Regions from separate parts of the Homo sapiens genome. Here all the other regions are linked to region 4. Evidence: promoter capture Hi-C in human tissues and cell types (Jung and others, 2019). All regions are on one chromosome and are shown on one strand. Each heading gives the region's core, a stretch centred on a gene start or on the middle of the fragment in contact. The rest is flanking DNA. Distances are from core to core; before and after follow the strand shown. Region 1 overlaps EGFLAM (EGF like, fibronectin type III and laminin G domains). Region 2 holds the start of LINC02119 (long intergenic non-protein coding RNA 2119). Region 3 overlaps LINC02107 (long intergenic non-protein coding RNA 2107). Region 4 holds the start of GDNF (glial cell derived neurotrophic factor). Region 5 overlaps WDR70 (WD repeat domain 70). Region 6 overlaps LINC02107 (long intergenic non-protein coding RNA 2107).

Region 1 (3,055 bases), core at 276-2,775, 430 kb after region 4:
TAGTAGGTGGGGAGGGGTTAAAATAGTCCAGTGTCCAACAATCCTCCTTCCCCCATTTGTCTTTAAAACCAAAGGAAAGAGAGGCTTGTGTGGGAATGGCATCGGAGGTATGATTGAAAAGGTCAAGTTGCGGGAAAAGGATAAAGCTAGACCAGTCTGCCATAATGAGAACTAACTGTGAGATCATAAGTAAAACAGTACTCCAATTCTTCAACATTCTTCTTCAATTTTATTGTACTGACCCTGGCTTGCTTATGAAGATCAATTCTGTATTCCCTTGAAAGCAAAGCAGCCAAAAGCTAGAGTGTTTGCAAAGGATTTTTCATTCTTTGTTTTTTAAGAACCAACATGCCTGATAAAAATGAATACTCCTGGTAAGTCCTATTGAAAGCAACCAGTTGACTGAAACATTCATCAGTTGACTTTTTGAGAGGTGTGTGTATGTGTGTGTGTGTGTGTGTCTGTGTCTGTGTCTGTGTGTAACCTAAAAGTAACCTGCATTATAATAGCAGTTAAAAATGAACTAAATTGTTTTGAAGTGGTGAAGTATTAGTGATACATGTACCAATGTCTGAAATTTACTTTGAAACACATTTAAAAAAATAAGATTTAGAAGAGGAGGATGGTATAAGATGGTGGAATAGGACTCTCCAGCAATCATTCCCCTGCATAAACATCTATTTGAATAACTATCCATGCATGAAAATACTTCACAAGAGCTAGAGAAACCAGGTTAGAGACCACTGTATCTAGTTATAGCATAACAATAAGAAAAGACACATTGAAGAAGGTAGGAAGGATAGTTATACATTACCCATGTCACCCCTTCCCCAGCAATAGGCAGCACAGCATGGAGAGACACACCATACACTTGAGGGAAAGAAAGAGAAATAAGCAAAGGAGTTTGCTTTGCACTCTAATTCTGGGCTCACCACAGTAAAACCCAGCACTGGGAAGTCCTACACAGCCCGATGACAGGCTGATACCCACAGACATAGCCCCTAGACCTATCCCTACACCAGATGGGAACACATAGCCCCTGCAAGATGGACTCAAGTTCTGGCCTGCATCACTGCTGGCCAACTACAGAGGCTTTGGACTCCACATAATCCCTAGTGACAGGAAGGCCTCAGAAGGTGTGACTTTTGGGCATGCCCCAGTGCTGTACTAGCTTCAGTGGCCATGGGCTTTGATTACACATCAGCACTGCAGCAGCCTTAGCAGCCGTGAGATTCTAGCCCGTGCTGTGACAGCTTTAGCAGCCATGGGACTTCAGTTTGGCACTGTGCTGGCTGTGACAGACCTGGGCTTAGAGGGCCCCCACGCACTGCAATGTGTGCAGTAATTGCAGTCTTGGGGACCACACCCTGACAACCTGCCCAAAATCTCTAGATAGGCTTACTATTGAAGGACATTCCTAGACAGAGCTAGACTGTGAACACTGGAATAAGTATCTGCTTCATCAATGTGCAGACATTGACACATGACCAAAATGATCAAGAACAATTTGGGAAACATGACATCATCAGATGAACAAAATAAGGTGCCAGTGACTAGCCCTGAAGAGATGGAGCGCTATGAACTTCCTGACAAAAAATTCAAAGTAGCTGTTTTAAGGAAGTTCAATGAACTTCAATAAAATGCGTAGAAACAGTTAAATGAAATGAAGAAAAGAATAAGTGACCAGAATGATAAATTTAACAGAGAAATATTAAAAAATCAAATATTATAACTGAAAAATACAATGAACAAAATGAAAAATATATCAACAGCAAAGTTTATTAAACAGAAGAAACAATCTGTGAACCTGAAGATATTTGAAAATATACAGCGAGGATTAAAAAGAAAAAATGAAAAAAGAATGAAGAAAGCTTACAGTATTTATGGGATAGCGTCGAAACAGCAAATGTTTGAGTCATTGGCATTCAAGAGGGAGTAGATGAAAAACAAAGGGGTAGAAAGCTTATTTAAAGAAATCATAGCAGAAAACTTTTCAAACCAGGAGAAAGATATAAATATCAAATTATAGGAATGCCAAAGGTCTCTAATCAGATTAAATCCAAATAAGGCTGTCTCAGGACATATTATAATCGAACTGTCAAAGATCAAAGACAAAGAGAGGATCCTGAAAGCAGCAAGAGAAAAGGAGCAAATAACATATAAGGGATTTCCAATATGCCTAACAGCAGACTTCTCAGGAAAACACTTACAGGCCAAGAGAGGGTGGGATGATATACTCAGTTTTGAAGGAGAAAAAACTGCCAACCAAGAATACTGTACCCAGAAAAGCTGTCCTTCAGAAATGAAGGATAGATAAAGACTTTCCCAGACAAACAAAAGCTGAGGAAATTTATCACCACCAGACCTGTCTTACAAGAAATGCTAAAGGGAGTTCCTCAGGCTGAAAGAAAAGGGTGCCAATGAGTAATAAAAAAAATCTGAAAGTATAAAACTGAATGGTAAAAGTAAGTACACAGTCAAATTCAGAACACTCTAATACTGTAAGGTGGTGTATAAATCACTTACATCCTTAGTATTAAGGTTAAAAGACCAACTGTTTAATGATAACTACAATCATTTGTTAAGGGATATGAAACATAAAAATGTAAATTGTGACATCAAACATTCAAAATGTGGAGGGGTAGTGAAGTTAAAGTGTAGAGATTTTTTTTTCCAATCAAAGTTAAGTTGTTATTAGCTTAAAATAATCTGTTATAACTATAAGATGTTTTCTGTAAGACTCGTGGTAACCACAGAGCAAAACCTATAATATACACACTAAAAACAAAAGGAAAGGAATCAAAAATACTACCAGGGAAAACTACTTAACCAGAAAGAAATATGGTAAGAAAAGATGGAAAGATCTCCTAGAAAACAATTTTAAAATGGTGGTAATAAGTGTGTACCTATCAATAATTACTTTGAATATAAATTGATCAAATTCTCCAATTAAAAGACATAAAGTGGCTTGAAAAACAAGACCCATCTATGCACTGCTTATAAGAGGCTCACTTCACCTGTAAAGACACATATAGGCTGAAAGTGAATGGATGCA
Region 2 (3,148 bases), core at 122-2,621, 310 kb after region 4:
CAAAGTCTTAAATATACAAGAATCCCAGCTTGGGCTCCCAGAGATATTAGGTGTTTTTCTCACCTCCTTATTTCCCTCTTGTTCAATAGTATTCACTATTCCATTGTGAAGTCTCCCCCAGGTCATTTTTGGTTGATTCTGGGCATCTTTCTTGATCATCCCAGCTCTTCCCACTGGTTGGGATACACTAGGAGCTTTTCCAAAATTTGATCTTGGGCTCTGCTATACCGGCATGCTGCCTCAAACAGACAGTCCCTTGACTTACCATAAGTCAATTCCATTGTCCAGCTTCTTAAATAGAAATCATTTGGTCGTTTTAATATTTTGACTGCTCATTCCTGCATTTATATATAATTATGCTTAGACTGCCTTTTTCTACCATGTGCAAATTCAACATGAAAACACTTCTCTCTTTAGCTTTAGCCTCACTGGCTATGCTGAGCCAAAGCTTTTGTTTTCTGTCTAGCTTATCCACCACCCACTTCATTTGACCTTATAAACATGTTTAAATAGATTTCTCGGATAATGACCATTCTAGCTGGCAACTTCCCGTTTAGATATTATAGCAGGCACAGTGCAAATTAGAGGGCAGAGCAAAAGCACTAAGAATCATGAGACCCTGGATAAATATAGTAGACCCGCTCAGCCTCATAGGACAAGGCTGGGTTCTTACCCCAGTTTACCCACTGACTCAGGGGGTGACTCTGGGGAAGTCCGAGTAAAACAATCATTGGTTTCATCTACTGGTGACTCAGTCATGTTGATCTCGATAAATGGGGGCAAAAGAAGGAGTCCGCTGTCACGGAGACACCTCATTTCCATCCTGGATATTTCACTGTTCCCTGGGTTGGCCTCTGAGTTCACTGGGAGGAAAACAAAGATGCCCTTTGTGCACTATTGAAGGCAGGCTGGGGCAACTGGCCGTATCAGCAATGAGAGGAATCTTTTAAAGGTTAGCAGATGGGCAAATAGGAAGAGCTGTTCAACCTGATATTAAAAGGTTGCGTTTCAAAGGTGGCTTTGTTCAATTCGGTGTTATCTTGCTTTAATATTTTCCACTGCTCTGCGATTTTGCTAATAGACCGTTCCACCAGTGATGAGAGCATTCAGTGAGAGCCTGGTGTTCTGCTCAGTACCAAGTGCAGCACTTTCACATGCTTGATGCTCAATGAATGTTGAAGGAGAGAGTGAATGGATACAGAGCTGAATGAGTAGGTATGGTTACATTGTAAATGGCCTTGCTCACATTCTTTGACAGCAGCTTTCTTTGCTGACTTGATTTTCCAAATGTCAGAATTGTCAAATCTGAGCTTCTTCAAGTTTTCTTTCTTTTCCTGATTTCTAGAGTAAGGGTTGGTTTAGTAAGCATTTTCAGTGACTCTCTGATCATCTGATGGGTCTTTTAGATTCAGCTATTTGCAGGAGATCATATTTTTGTGACCTAGAAGGGAAATTTTTTTGGATAAATTTTCATGAGTCTTTATTAAATAAACTTAGCATATCCTCCTTCCTCATTCCATAGAAATAGATCTCCATACTTTCTGAGTTGGAATAAGGAAATGAAATAATATAATATATAAAGTTGTACAGTAATTTGATGAGCAACTAGATTAATTGTTCTTCAAAATGCAGAAAATAAACCAGTATACTAAAGGAAAAATGCAACTTGCAAAATAAATTACTGTATAAAAAAACTTAAACATTCATATTTTTCCCTTTGAGGGAGAAGAGGCAACTTCAGATGGGTGAATGACATCATTGTTGACTAGTTAATAAAATCATCTTATATAATATAGTTCTTATACACTTTTTTTGTTGTCCTGAATACCTTTACGTCCTGATAAAAATTGCTTGAGGCATGAGGAACAAGTGTTCGGTACTCTTTGAAGAGATGTGGTAACTAAGCATTGGGGGTTGGCCTTGTTGCCTAAGATCACACAGTTTGCAGCTGAACTGAAACTAGAAACCGGGGATGCTGGATCAGAGTCCAGTACTCTTTAGAATATTAGAAAGAAGGAAAGTCAGCTGGGTGCGGTGGCTCGCACCTGTAATCTCAGCTCTTTGGGAGGCTGAGGCAGGCAGATCACTTGAGGTCAGGAGTTTGAGACCAGTCTGGCCAACATGGTGAAACCCCGTCTCTACTAAAAATACAAAAATTAGCCAGGAGTGCTGGCACATGCCTGTAATCCCAGCTACTTGGGAGACTGAGGCAGGAGAATTGCTTGAACCTGGGAGGGGGAGGTTGCAGTGAGCCGAGATTGGGCCATAGCATTCCAGCCTGGGCGAAGAAGCGAGACTCCATCTCAAAAAAGAAAGAAAGAAAGAAAGTCAGATGCACAAAATATGAATGGAAGAAGAGCTAATAATAATGAAATGTTTTTGGTAGGGTTTACCTCAATGAAAAGCAAAATCACCTCCACTATTTTCTCCCAATTGAATGAAATGTTCTAAGTATCAATCTAGGAGTTCCATAAAAGCAAGGACTGTGCCTCCTTCAGATCTCCTGGATCTAACCCAATTTCTCATGTAGTAGGTCCTAAACACATGCTTGATGAATGAATAGATAACTTTCCACAATGTCTTCTGTTGTTAGCTCCTTCTCTTATCCCTTAATAATCCTTTCACATATTTCCTCCCTCTGGGTGGACCATAAGTCAACTTCAAGATTAGACATGTGGCATAACATCATTGTGAATACATATTTATTGAGCACAGTGAGGAAGCAAGAGTTGAAGCAAGGGTTATATTTGTCTTCTTGGATTCCACTCCTTCATAAATAAAGAAAACACAACTAGTAGAACTTTTGGGGTTGAAGAGACTTTAGAGATCATGTAGTATATTTCCTTCAGCTGAAGTGCAAAGGTATGAAATGGCTAAGGAAGGCCTCATAAGGAGATGGGAGCAGTGCTGATATGAGATTGGCATCTCCCAAATTCCAGTCCCGTGTTTGTTCTAATGCACCACCTCTTGCCTTTCTGGTGCATGTGTATATGTGTATATATCTATATCCATATCCATATCTATAGCTATCTTGAAATGAGTTGGTCATTCTTGTCTAAATTTGAGTAACATCAAGGTCCCCGAAATTCAACAGGAAGGGTAACATATATTGCAAATGGTCTCTTTTCAATGAAATATGTTTTTGATT
Region 3 (3,004 bases), core at 212-2,711, 260 kb after region 4:
TCTGGGTTGGATCTTGTGCATGTTCAGATTTTCCATGACAGCTTTTTCTGTTTTTCCTCCAGAGCCACATGTCCCATGTTTAAAAAATACTGTAATTTTATGGGGTTTTAAAAAATCATTTTGCCAAAAACTATCCTTTTAAAAGGGGTCATAACAGAAGTCAAATATGTATTCTGAGACTCTGCTTGTGACATGATAGATTTAAGACTGTGTTTGCAATGCTTGACTGAATGTTCACATTCATTTTGCACCTGAATTGGGCAAAAATGTGGGTAAACTTTCTTGTCCCAGGCTGAGCCTAAGGTAAATTCCTGAATCAAATACTTTGAACAGTGCCTCCAGCAGCGCACTTGCAGGAGCCCACATGCATGGGGGATGGGGATACTTTCTAAGAAATAATTTAGTCTAAGGGGAGAATAGCACAACCTTGGCCTTGGAGAAGCCTGGTTCTTTAAGCAGTGGCAGCTATCTGCCAGTTGCTCCGTGAAATCATGTCTAAGTCCTAGGAAGAGAAGACACTGGGTGTCAAAACTCCGGGAGACACAGGGGCAAAGCCATATTGTGTGGGAAGGCAATGTTTCCACCTCACCACAGCAGAAACCCTGCCACCTCCTAAACCTCAGCACATCAGCGTCAGTGGAAATAGAAGTATCCAGTGGGAGTGGTAGCAGCACCTGTGGTGGGAGCAGCTCCAGCAGAGGCCGTGGTGCATAGGGAGGTGGTGGAGGCAGCCTAACTCAGCAGACACCAGTGTGCGCAGTGGTGGGGATGTGTCTTTGGGCTCTGGAGACAGTGGCAAGTTACCTTTATACTGCTTAGCAGTCTTGGCAGGGATGTCAACCACAGAGCCAGAGTGGTAGAAGAGAAAAAGTTGTTTAAATATATATATTCATTTGAAAAGTGTCCATGATGTATAACATGTTTGTGAAAGTTTATTCGGGGACAGAGAGAGAAAAGACCATGATGAATCTTTGAAGATGTTTACCAAACGTTTAACAATTTCTGCTTTATTCGTTCTTTTTCAAAAAGTACTTATTGAAATTATTGTCTCAAATGAGATACAACCTGAACCTCTACACGTAGTTTAGGTAATTAAATGCATCGCAAATACTGTATTGAGTGTTTTCAAAGAAAATATTAATTGCGCATGACAAGTCAAGTACATGACTTTCAATTTCTTCATGAGTAAAAACAGATTTTATTCACCAAATAGCTATTAAAGACATCTTAACTGATTGCAAATTTTAAAGAGAAGATTTTTACTGTTGTTATAGATTATCAGACTATGGGGCTGAGTATCCTACCAAGGGCAAGGAGAGGTGGCATCATTTATGATGAAAATGGAAGAAAAAGTGAAAACAAGGAGTAGAAATCTTACAAAGATGGAGACAAGACAAAGAAGAGGATTGCTGAATAGAGTTCTTAAAAACATGAATCAATTAGCCAAGCTTAGTCCTCTAAAGAGATGCTGCTTATCTGAGTTACCACAACTAGTGATAGCCTATATTCTCATGATCTGACCACCAACTGTTTGTCACTAAGGACTAGTGAAAATCCTTAACCAACTGCATTCTGCTTCACTAGACAGAGGATGTAAACTGGTAACGTGAATGAAATGTGCTGAAGGTTAGGATAGAGGGGTGCACAGGACTTGGAAAGATAAAAGGGAAGGGCACTATTCAAACTAGGAGTTCAGGGAAAGCCCTCAGAGATAAAGCTTGCATCTTACAGGAGAAGTCACGTGTACTCAGGCAAACAGAGGTAGGAAGGGTATTCTAACTAGAACTAGCAAGAGCAAAGGCACAGCAGCATGGAATCATGTGGCGAGTGTGTGCGTGTGTGCATGCATGTGTGTGCTGGGGTGAGGCAGAAGGTAGTACAATAGTGCAGCCATTACAATCAATAAGGGGCAATTAGTGTGAGAGCTCAAGATAAAGGGAGCAGAATACTGGAGTAAACTGATGCCGCTGATGCCAAAAACAGATGCTAGAAGACTAACAAAGAGGAGAAAAACTACATATTTGGTTTGACTGTATAATGTCAATTAAAGTCATGCAAGTGACCCACTATTTAATTGTATTATTTTATTTAATTTTATTTACTTAATTATTGAGATAGGGTCTCACTCTGTTGCCCAGGTTGGAGTGCAGTGGCATAATCATAGCTCACTGCAGGCTTGAACTCCTGGGCTCAAGCAATCCTCCTGCTTCAGCCTCCCAAATAGCTATGACTATAGGCATGTGCCACCATGCCCAGCTAATTTTTAAAATTGTAGAAACGGGGTCTCACTATGTGGCCCAGGCTGATCTCCTAGGCTCAAGTGATACTCCTGCCTTAGCTTCCCAAAAATGCTGGAATTATACTACTAACTTTTTTTGTCTAATTTTTGTGCTGCTCAATAAGATGTGTGTATATATAATATACATAGATACAAGTTTCATATCATATAGTCACCAGATTGATTTATTCTGTATACAATTATATATTTGTATATAATCACTTAATTTGATGCTATGTAATATATCACATATATTACATATAAAAACACATATAATCACTAAATTTGTCAAGTTAACTTTATTGTAAATTTGATTGAAATGCCACAATCAGCACCATACTTGCAGGCCAGTATTAGTTATTTTAATTAGTTAAGTGGCATTATTGCCTACTCAGGCATCAAAATTATTTTCTCAGTTTAAACACTTACATGGACTATTACACGTTATAATGCCTTTTGTCTTGCATGATTAATGTTTTCGTATTGTTTCTTTTTCGTGAGCAGAGGCAGTCTGCTAGCTGAGAAGTCAAAAGGCCTGTCTCGCACCTATGCTCTGTCCCAAGTAGCTGTGAGGCTATGCCTTTGTTTTCTCATTTCTCATAGGTAGGCTTTGGGATGAACGCTCCCTGGCTGCCCTTCAGGGGTGGCACAGTTTGTTGACAGAAGGGTGGAACCAGGACCCAGGACTCAGGACCCAGGACCCGTGGCTGGCAGCTCTGACTCTCC
Region 4 (3,180 bases), core at 74-2,573:
CCTCGAGGTGGTGTAAAGTAGTGGCAGTGGTGGTGGGGTGTTTTTGGAAGGCGGCACAGAGTACAGGAGAAAAAGGGGTCATTAAAATAATAACCTCAATGGCCTAGTGGAGTCTCAAGAATACGTTCGAGACAGAGATTTGAATCCAGGACTGGCAAGAAAGCCCCTCTCCTAACCTCGACGGGGATGGTTAGTTGGGGTGGAGGGCGTTAGGAACGTGCAGGCAACCGGGTGAGGAATGTAGCTTTGCCAGACCTCGCCCGGAGGAGGTGAGCCCTCCATTTTTAGGTTCTCAGCACCTTTGCAGCAGCCCCTCCCCCGGCCTGCGCTTTTCCTTGGCACAGATCAAAACAAGCTCAATAGTAAGTTGCACTCTTGGCAATGATAGTATCTCTGCACGTCCAGAGAGGACACATTTCGACGGCGGTGGGTTCGAAGATGACCCAAGCCCTGAATCGTTCTGTGACTTGACGGAAGAGCACCTGGCCGAGTCGGGGAAGGAAACTGCCCCTCTTGGGCATTCCGGGTCCAGGCGCATCTGGGGCTCCACAGATCTTTGCCCACGTGGAAAAGGCAACATGCCCCTCCGAAAGGCCGGCCTCTCTCCGGTTCTACTTTTCTCTCTCCTCGCATAGCTTAGGTTCCCTCTAGTCTTTCCACTTTCTACTCTCACCGTTTGCTCTGGGGTCCAGACGCACCCCTCTGACTAGGGCGCCCTTCAGCCGGCCGCACCCACCCGCGACGCAGGCACCACCCGCTCCCTGCTCCCCGGCCCGCTCCCTCACTTACCTCGGATCGGGTCTCCGCAGACCCTAGGTTGGACATTAACTCCAGGTGCCCCAAGTCCCAGCCAGGAGACCCATCCGGGCTGATGGCTGGAGCGCGGAGCCCCGCCCAACAGGTCAGGGGCAAGAGTTCGCAATCCTGGGGTCGCGCGGGGCAGCAAGGGCGCGCTGGAGGCGGCGGCCAAGACTCCCGCCGCCGCCGCCGCCAACAGGGCGAGGGCTGCCGGCAACTCTCCCGCCGGGCCCCCGCACCCCCAGAAGCCGAGGTCCGAGCAGCCGCCGCTGCTTTGGGTGGGGGGCTGACAGGGCTGCGCGCGTCGCGCTCTTGGCTGGGGCTGCGCGGGCCCGGGGCGCTGCGGGCGGCTCAGCGGCAGCTGCCGCGCTCTGCGCCTCCTCTGGGCGCACTGCCTGGGAGCACGAGACTGGTTTGTCTGATGCTGCTGCCGGAGCTGAGGTCTTGCCTGGAGATCCGAACGAGACACCACGTCAACCGGCGCGGGGAGTCCCGTGAAGACATGAGGGCGCCAGGAGCGCAGGCTGGTCTTCTAGAGCCCGGGCTGGGGGTCCGGGGTCCGGGGTGGGGGAGGGGAGGCGCGGGGCCCCGGGAGGGAGGGGTCGGGAGGCGTCGGCTGGGCCTGGCGGTGGGGGAGGAGAGGAGAGCAGCGAGGAGGCCCTGGAGTTCCCGAGGCGGGGGGCCGGGGTGCGAGTGGGCGACGCGAGGCGCCCCTCCCTGGGCTGCAGGGAGAGCGCTGAGAGCGCGGAGACGCCGCGGGGCTAGCGCCTTCTCCTCTCCGGGTGGATCAAAAATCGAGAGGAATGTGCGGCGCTCTGCGCGGGCCAGCCGAAAGGGGCAATCCGAACTTGACCGCGGCGCCCGCGCCGGGCTTTGCCCCCGCGCGCCGCACTGGGAGGGTGGCGCTCTGCCGGTGCAGGGCAGCGCCGGGCTTTCCTCGCGCCTGTCGAAGGCCGGCCTTCCCGCTCGGGTGTCTCGCCCTCTCGCTTCTCCGCAGGGCAGGAGGCAGTGGCGAGAAAAGGAGCTGCCGGCCGGAGTTCTAGCACCGAGAAGGAGAGGTGCGGAGCGGCCGGGTGAGGGAAGCCGAGTATTTGCCAGGGGACGCTGCGAGTGGGGATGAATTTATAGGGCTCTCACTCCGTGACGTGCCCTCCAGTGGCTTTTCTGATTCGCTTTCTGACCTAAACACACATTAGTTTAGTCCCCATGCTAAGGCCAACACGGTCTCCAAATATCTGCTGGCTGAAGTCAGAGGCTTTGCATATCATGTATTACATGGCAGGCAATGAAGAAGGCTTCTGAGGCTGGCCGGCTCCTCAGTCCTAGGCTCCATTTTCATGCTGTTGTAATCTAATACCAGACATGGGGCAGGCACATACATTCAAAATCCCAATTCCAGAGGCGTAAGATCACTTTATCAGGAACGGGTTAGGGGAGGTTGAGCTAAACCTGCTTTTATCCAGATTTTCGAAAATGCAGATGGGAAACTTCAGCAAGCGCCCACTTGGATGCTGAGTTTCCAGCGATCAGGGGCCCGGCCCCCATTCCAGAGCTCTGTGGATGGGAGAGGTGAGACCTTCTGGGCATTCCTTTTGTTGGTTAGTTCACCACCAGAAGCTGCCTGAGCCTTCTTTTGTAGAGGACAGGAGGAGGGCAAGTCCTTACACACCCTGTGCATGGCTATAACCATAAATACATTTCATTCACATGGGGCATGGAATTGGCTGTACCTCTAAAATAATGTACTAAATAGGGCATGTCTTTGCTAAGCAGAAACCTGTTTTCCGGAAGCCATTGGACCTGAATTCAGTGGGACCTCTTTTATTTTATTAGCTGGGGCCAGGGAAAGTGTAAACAGGCTCAGTTTACGTCCATGTACCTCTTATTTTATGACTCATCCGGTTGTTGGGGAGTATGTGTTCTTCAAGTAGCTGATACAGACAATAGGCAGGGGAAATGCGTGTGGCAGTGTGGGGGGAAGATCATGTATTATTAAACTTCTTAAAAGTCAAAGATCAGCTACTTTGCAGGTTTGTCAGTGAAGCGAGTGTGGGAGGAAAATTGTTCTTACTAACGTTGCTGTGATTTAAGATTAAGCGAAGTGAAAATCGAGTCATCAAAACATACCTTAGCTGAAATTAGGATGCTCTCTGGAGTTCTGCAGAAAATGACATTTCCCTCTTTGATAGATTTATGGTAGAAATGTAGTTAGATTCAGAAATTAGAGGGCAGAATAAGCTTAATATATTTATTGCCGTTTAGCATTGTTTTTGGAATTTGAAGACGACCCTCATCAATGTTCTTACTCTGAATGATTTCTTTATTTTTAGAGGGCTTTTTGCTGGGGATGATCAGCCCGTCCAAGCACCTGCAAATATCTAG
Region 5 (2,989 bases), core at 415-2,914, 280 kb before region 4:
TTTTTTTTTAAGAGACAGAGTCTTGCTCTGTCACCCAGACAGATTGCACTAGTGCAATAATAGCCCACTGCAGCCTTGAACTCCTGGGTTCAAGCTGTCCTCCTTCTCCAGCCTCTTGAGAAGCTAGGACTATAGGTGCAGACCACCAAGAAGCCAATCTTGAAGAAAAAAATACAAGTCAAAGCTTGGCTGAGCCGGCCATGTGGTACACCTATGACTGGCAGGTTCATGTATATGTCATTATTACTGAGTCAACTGCATTCTTTTCTTAATTCCATGAAAAGCAGTCTACTATACATACTGTCAGGGGAAATCTACTAAGAAGATGACTGTGATTGGCTATTACAGACTTGCCATGTCTCGTTTCACTGGTATTACAGGAAAAAAGAAATTTCTTTAAATAATACTTTAAGTGCCACGAAGACGGGACAATTTGTACTTCTTGGTATCCTCTATCCTCTCTCTCAAAGTGCTAGAAAAATGGACCGATCTAACTAATATAGAAAACCGAGGGATAAGATTATTTTGGTCAGTCTATAAATCCATATTTTTGAATTCTTTTAGAAATAAAGTCTTCCTCATCGATATCACAGAGATGGTATACACTATGCTAAAACAGCTGTTTAATTTAAATTGCATAAAATATTTAGTTAAGCTATATAGCCAAAACACATGCTAACAACAAATAAGGTTAGCCACCTTGGTGGGGAAATGGAGTGATAGTTCTCTAGAATCAGGAAGAATTCATTTGTGGCAGCTGCTTTGTTGGCATGGTGCTAAAGCTTGTTTTATCCCCAACAAGGACAGGATCTGGTGTAGGAGGGTCTCAGCAACAGGCCATGTCGTTATGAGGGTTATTTTTATAAAATAGGTCTCATTGTATTGGCAAAGCTTAATCCTCTGGTGGGTAGAATCCCTTTTATTATAGTTCATATTGTGACTTACTGCTTTTTAGTAGTAAATTAGAAAGGTTCTCTGTTGATTTAACATAAAGATAGCATCTGAAATTGTAAGCAGTTTTGCTATTTATGTAAATATTGTTTCATGTGTTATTGTGGAAAAGGAAGAAAGAACTTGTGGATTTAGAGAATTAAGGTTGAAGGAAATAGTGGCAAGGAAAAAAGAGGCATTTGAGGTATTCCATGATGCTGTCTCATGGTCCTGGGGTCTACATATGAGGAGGTGACACCAAATGCATGTTAAAATTTTATGTCATTAAGTGAAAATTTTTCTTTGTTTTTTAAAATGACATACTAGGCTGGGCGCGGTGGCTCATGCCTGTTATCTCAGCACTTTGGGAGGCCAAGGCAGGTGGATCACTTGAGGCCAGGTGTTCGAGACCAGCCTGGTCAACATGGTGAAACCCCGTCTCTATTAAAATATAAAAATTAGCTGGGTGTGGTGGCACATGCCTGTAATCCCAGCTACTTGGGAGGCTAAGGCGCAAAAATTGCTTGAACCGGGAGGCAGAGGTTGCTGTGAGCCAAGATAACACCATTGTGCTCCAGCCTGGCTGACAGAGTGAGACTGTGTGTCTCAAAAGAAAAAAAAAAGTAAAATGACATCCTAGAAAAATCAGAAAACTTAGATCCTGCAAGTTAATTAATGGCTTTGAGGCTTAATTCTCTTTTTTTTTTTTTTTAATTGATCATTCTTGGGTGTTTCTCCCAGAGGGGGATTTGGCAGGGTCACAGGACAATAGTGGAGGGAAGGTCAGCAGATAAGTGAACAAAGGTCTCTGGTTTTCCTAGGCAGAGGACCCTGCGGCCTTCCGGCCTTCCGCAGTGTTTGTGTCCCTGGGTACTTGAGATTAGGGAGTGGTGATGACTCTTAACGAGCATGCTGCCTTCAAGCATCTGTTTAACAAAGCACATCTTGCACCACCCTTAATCCATTCAACCCTGAGTGGACACCGCACATGTTTCAGAGAGCACAGGGTTGGGGGTAAGGTCACAGATCAACAGGATCCCAAGGCAGAAGAATTTTTCTTAGTACAGAACAAAATGAAAAGTCTCCCATGTCTACCTCTTTCTACACAGACATGGCAACCATTCGATTTCTCAATCTTTTCCCCACCTTTCCCCCCTTTCTATTCCACAAAACTGCCGTTGTCATCATGGCCCGTTCTCAATGAGCTGTTGAGTACACCTCCCAGACGGGGTGGTGGCCGGGCAGAGGGGCTCCTCACTTCCCAGTAGGGGCGGCCGGGCAGAGGCGCCCCTCACCTCCCGGACGGGGCGGCTGGCCGGGCGGGGGGCTGACCCCCCCCGCCTCCCTCCCGGACGGGGCGGCTGGCTGGGCGGGGGGCTGACCTCCCGGCCTCCCTCCCGGATGGGGGGGCTGGCTGGGCGGGGGGCTGACCCCCCCACCTCCCTCCTGGACGGGGCGGCTGGCCGGGCAGAGGGGCTCCTCACTTCCCAGTAGGGGCGGCCAGGCAGAGGCGCCCCTCACTTTCCGGATGGGGCGGCTGGCCGGGCGGGGGGCTGGCCCCCCACCTCCCTCCTGGACGGGGCGGCTGGCCGTGCAGAGGGGCTCCTCTCTTCCCAGTAGGGGCGGCCGGGCAGAGGCGCCCCTCACCTCCAGGATTGGGCGGCTGGCCGGGCGGGGGGCTGACCCCCCCACATCCTTCCCGGACGGGGCGGCTGGCCGGGCAGAGGGGCTCCTCACTTCCCAGTAGGGGCGGCCGGGCAGAGGCGCCCCTCACCTCCCGGATGGGGCGGCTGGCCGGGCGGGGGGCTGACCCCCCCCCACCTCCCTCCCGGACGGGCGGCTGGCCGGGCGGGGGGATGACCCCCCCCACCTCCCCCCGGATGGGGCGGCTGGCCGGGCGGGGGGCTGACCCCCCCCCACCTCCCTCCCGGACGGGGCGGCTGGCCGGGCGGGGGGCTGACCCCCACCTCCCTCCCAGACGGGGTGGCTGCCGGGCGGAGATGCTCCTCACGTCCCAGACGGAGTGGCTGCCGGGCGGAGGGGCTCCTCACTTCTCAGA
Region 6 (3,219 bases), core at 513-3,012, 290 kb after region 4:
AAGTTTGGGATCATTTTATTAGCAACAAATGTCTGTCAGTATTAATTTATCCCATGTGTGAAATATGAGTGAGATAAATGCCAAACTATTAAATTCAACTTAACAGGAACAGCAAAGAATGAACTGAAATTCTTGGCTGGTAGAGTAGCCACATTTTTCTAGCAGACTTGACCTGCTGAAGTTCAGAGATCTGGAGTGAAAAACTTAACAGAGGTCGAGACAAGTACTGAATCTGGGAGGACACATTTCTCAGGATAAATTCGCCAGGATTTTAGCGAGTGGTTTCTCCATTTAGTTGCCAGACTTAGCAAATAAAAATATAGGATACCTAATTAAACTTGAAAAATAGCTTTAACTGCTGCATTTTGGTAATTTATTTTAAAAGTAGTGGAGTACAGGACATTTAGGGAGTCCCAACAAAGTGAATACACGACACAGGACAAAATTATTAAATACCGGACATATATGTATGGGTCACCTGGCAACTCAATTTCTCCATCCACTTGCCATTAGTAGACTTGCATGGGCCCTGTAGTTGCTCAAGACCATTATGAGAAAGGCCTTCCTTCCAAAGTATGATCCCCGACCATCTTGAGAGACAATAGTTAACATCAGGATCATTTGGGAAATTTCAGGACAAATATTTGCATAACAACAGGCTTGATTTAGAAGAGAGGTTCTTAACCCTGGATGTACATTAGGATCACCTGGGGACTGGGTTGCCAAATTAAATAGAGTGCTCAGTTAAACTAACATTTCAGATAAACACAAGTAACTTCTTAATGTGTGTCCCAAATATTGTATATAATATGCACAGTATTTATATGTACACTAAAAAAAAATTTTATCTGAAAATCACATTTAGCTGGGCATTCTGTATTTTCATTTGCTATGTTTGACAACCCTAGATGGGTGGGGGTGGGTTAAAACATGCCCCTGCCTGGGCCACACCCCTGATAAATTCAATCACAGACTAAGGGTGGGCCAGTTACGAATCTCTCCAGGTGATTCTGCTGGACAACCAGGGTTGACAGCACCTCCTCTGGAGTTTAGAGCTGAGCATCTGTGTTCACATGGCCCACCTGGGATTTGTTCAAGTGCAGATGCAGTGATCTGGGGTGGGGTGTGAGGTTCTGCATTTCTAACAAGTTCCCAGGTGATGCTGTCGCATAAGTCAGAGCACTTAGTTGTTTAACAAGCATTTCTGAGCTCTGAGGGTCAGAGTCAGGTGGGATGAGTGTAGAGGCCCACAGTCATTGAAGGGGTATAAGCTCCCCTCACAGTTCATGGCTGTTCGTCCGTGACAGGCGTTTGGTGCATTTTCCAGGTCTTTTCCTCACTAGCACTGCAGTGGGACCATGTGACATGAGCATTTCCTTGGCCCAGCTTGTCTCATAAGTTCCTAATGGTTTCCTCTTTGAGTAAACGATATACCTGGCTGCAAGGGGGAAACCCTATTGTGTATTTGGGTGTGTGTGTATTGTAGTGGAGGGAGGGTGATCAGAGAGCAATCCCTTCCCTTGAGGAGTTGTGCTCAGACACTGCCTGACCTAGCAGCCTCTCCTGGCCTGATGGAAGCAGGAGTTTGTTCTCTAGAAATAATCTGACCCAGAAAGCATTTTAGACCCCTTAGAGTAGCCATGATAGCCCTGCAGAAAATCATGAGATTTTTGCATTGGTGCATATGTGTGGAATGAAAGGTGTGGGATGAATGTGGATATGCACATGGCAACGGAGCCATGGAAGGAAGTCAGGCAGGGTCCACGGCACCGGGTGGGCCCACTTCAGCTTTCTTATGTTACTGAGTGAAGTTCCAGAGGTGCTTGTTCCTCCTGTGTCCCAGCTCCTACTCCCGACTGCTTCATGTCTGTTGTACACACACAAACACATGAGTGCACGCACACACATACAAACACACTTTTTCTTTCTTCGACTCTTAGAGAAGATCCAAAAGTTTAGGCCACTGTTAAGATCACTAGGAAAATGCTGGCTTGTTCCTCTGGGGTTGTCTAACCAAGGTTATGATCTTTAAAGGAATACACATGAGCCAGTCACTAGCTAATGCTGTCAAGTGTGGAGACTGAAAAGTCATTCTGAAAGCTACCAGGTACTGCCATGTGCCAGAACCGCCCTCAGAATACTCCATAGAAATAGGACAGGGCAGGTCCTTATTCCCGTCCCTCCAAGGAGGCGGGACAGATTAGTTGGAAAAGCAATGTTGCCTGCAGAATGAGAAGATCTGATCCCATTTAAGTTTTGGGATCTAATAGTGATGTGACTTTAGACAAGACACTTGAGTGGTCTGATTCTCCATTTCCTTCTAATAACTGGGCTAGTCATACTTGAAAGAGCTGCTGGGGGTTAATGAGAGAAGCTGCATGACAGCACCGAGCACAAGCCCTGGCACAAGGGAAGTGTAGATCCATGTCAGCCAGTCCTGCCTACCGGGAGAGATGCCGATTCTTTCCACTATCACTTCATGACCTTTGCCTCTCCATTTCTTATTCCCAGACATTTGCTCTGTGGCAAGAAGGCCGTAGAGAGCAGCAAAACTGCAGTTCAAAGAGAACTGCAAAGCCATGCATCAGCAGCCCAGCTCATGTTTATAAGGAATGGCATTTATAGCTGAGCATTTTCCAGGGTAGCATATTTCAATAACACAATACAAATCACACCAAAATACCAGCACACACACACACACACCCCTTTAAAAAGTATTTACTCTCAATTTTATAAGAAGTTGACGGAACTGTTGAAAGAATGTTGAAATGAAAAGCCACTTCTGAAACACCCCTTCATGCATTGAAACATTTTGGTGTGTTATTAGTATTATTCTTTTTAATCTGGAGGCTCTTGGCCACCCCCGCCTGCGTGACGGAATGAGGAAATGCTCCCATTTGAAGAGCAGGAATATCACTGGTTATCCGCTCCATGAACATTTGTTGATTCCAAATGAATCATCACCTGTGAAAATCAAGAAATGCCATTTACTGCTTAGACCCAACAGGATTGCACTCAGTGAACTAATTATTGGACAAAATGTGCCAATTGTTTCAGAGGACAGAGGTGCCCTGATTTCTTTTTTTTTTTTTTTTTTTGGTTTGTGATTTAAAAAAAAATCAGTTCAACTCCTCCTTTTTTTAACTTTTATTTTAGGTTCAGGAGTACATGTGAAGTCAACTCCTCACTTTTAAATGCTGCAAAGTGAGCAAACATTGA

The links. The method cuts DNA at HindIII sites, captures the fragments that hold promoters and counts their contacts. A contact is called where the count stands out against the background at its distance.
Region 1: a fragment that was not itself captured here is called in contact with the fragment with the promoter of GDNF in region 4 in 1 of the 25 tissues and cell types used here (H1 embryonic stem cells).
Region 2: a contact is called between a fragment that was not itself captured here and the fragment with the promoter of GDNF in region 4, in 1 of the 25 tissues and cell types used here (hippocampus).
Region 3: a contact is called between a fragment that was not itself captured here and the fragment with the promoter of GDNF in region 4, in 1 of the 25 tissues and cell types used here (adrenal gland).
Region 5: a contact is called between a fragment that was not itself captured here and the fragment with the promoter of GDNF in region 4, in 1 of the 25 tissues and cell types used here (mesenchymal stem cells).
Region 6: a contact is called between a fragment that was not itself captured here and the fragment with the promoter of GDNF in region 4, in 1 of the 25 tissues and cell types used here (heart left ventricle).

Annotation. Positions count from the first base shown.
Region 1 is chr5:38,272,317-38,275,371 of GRCh38, forward strand. All of the region lies in intron 1 of EGFLAM (EGF like, fibronectin type III and laminin G domains), which reads left to right. Among named protein-coding and RNA genes, the nearest start is that of EGFLAM, 15 kb to the left of the region's middle. The HindIII fragment of the contact is 4,073 bases long and covers 1-3,055 here.
Region 2 is chr5:38,147,387-38,150,534 of GRCh38, forward strand. The region is part of intron 2 of LINC02107 (long intergenic non-protein coding RNA 2107); the gene reads left to right. It overlaps LINC02119 (long intergenic non-protein coding RNA 2119), which reads left to right and starts at 1,094. Exons shown (of 2, transcript NR_134272.1): 1 at 1,094-1,215. RefSeq lists a silencer at 681-975. The HindIII fragment of the contact is 7,248 bases long and covers 1-3,148 here.
Region 3 is chr5:38,094,742-38,097,745 of GRCh38, forward strand. The region is part of intron 2 of LINC02107 (long intergenic non-protein coding RNA 2107); the gene reads left to right. Among named protein-coding and RNA genes, the nearest start is that of LINC02119, 52 kb to the right of the region's middle. The HindIII fragment of the contact is 3,100 bases long and covers 1-3,004 here.
Region 4 is chr5:37,838,718-37,841,897 of GRCh38, forward strand. GDNF (glial cell derived neurotrophic factor) reads right to left here and starts at 1,324. Exons shown (of 3, transcript NM_000514.4): 1 at 790-1,324. GDNF-AS1 (GDNF antisense RNA 1) reads left to right here and starts at 1,167. Exons shown (of 4, transcript NR_145476.1): 1 at 1,167-1,321. RefSeq lists an enhancer at 248-1,185. The HindIII fragment of the contact is 15,271 bases long and covers 1-3,180 here.
Region 5 is chr5:37,560,820-37,563,808 of GRCh38, forward strand. The region is part of intron 9 of WDR70 (WD repeat domain 70); the gene reads left to right. Among named protein-coding and RNA genes, the nearest start is that of WDR70, 180 kb to the left of the region's middle. RefSeq lists an enhancer at 1,610-2,317 and a silencer at 2,125-2,303. The HindIII fragment of the contact is 4,709 bases long and covers 1-2,989 here.
Region 6 is chr5:38,129,287-38,132,505 of GRCh38, forward strand. All of the region lies in intron 2 of LINC02107 (long intergenic non-protein coding RNA 2107), which reads left to right. Among named protein-coding and RNA genes, the nearest start is that of LINC02119, 18 kb to the right of the region's middle. The HindIII fragment of the contact is 8,812 bases long and covers 1-3,219 here.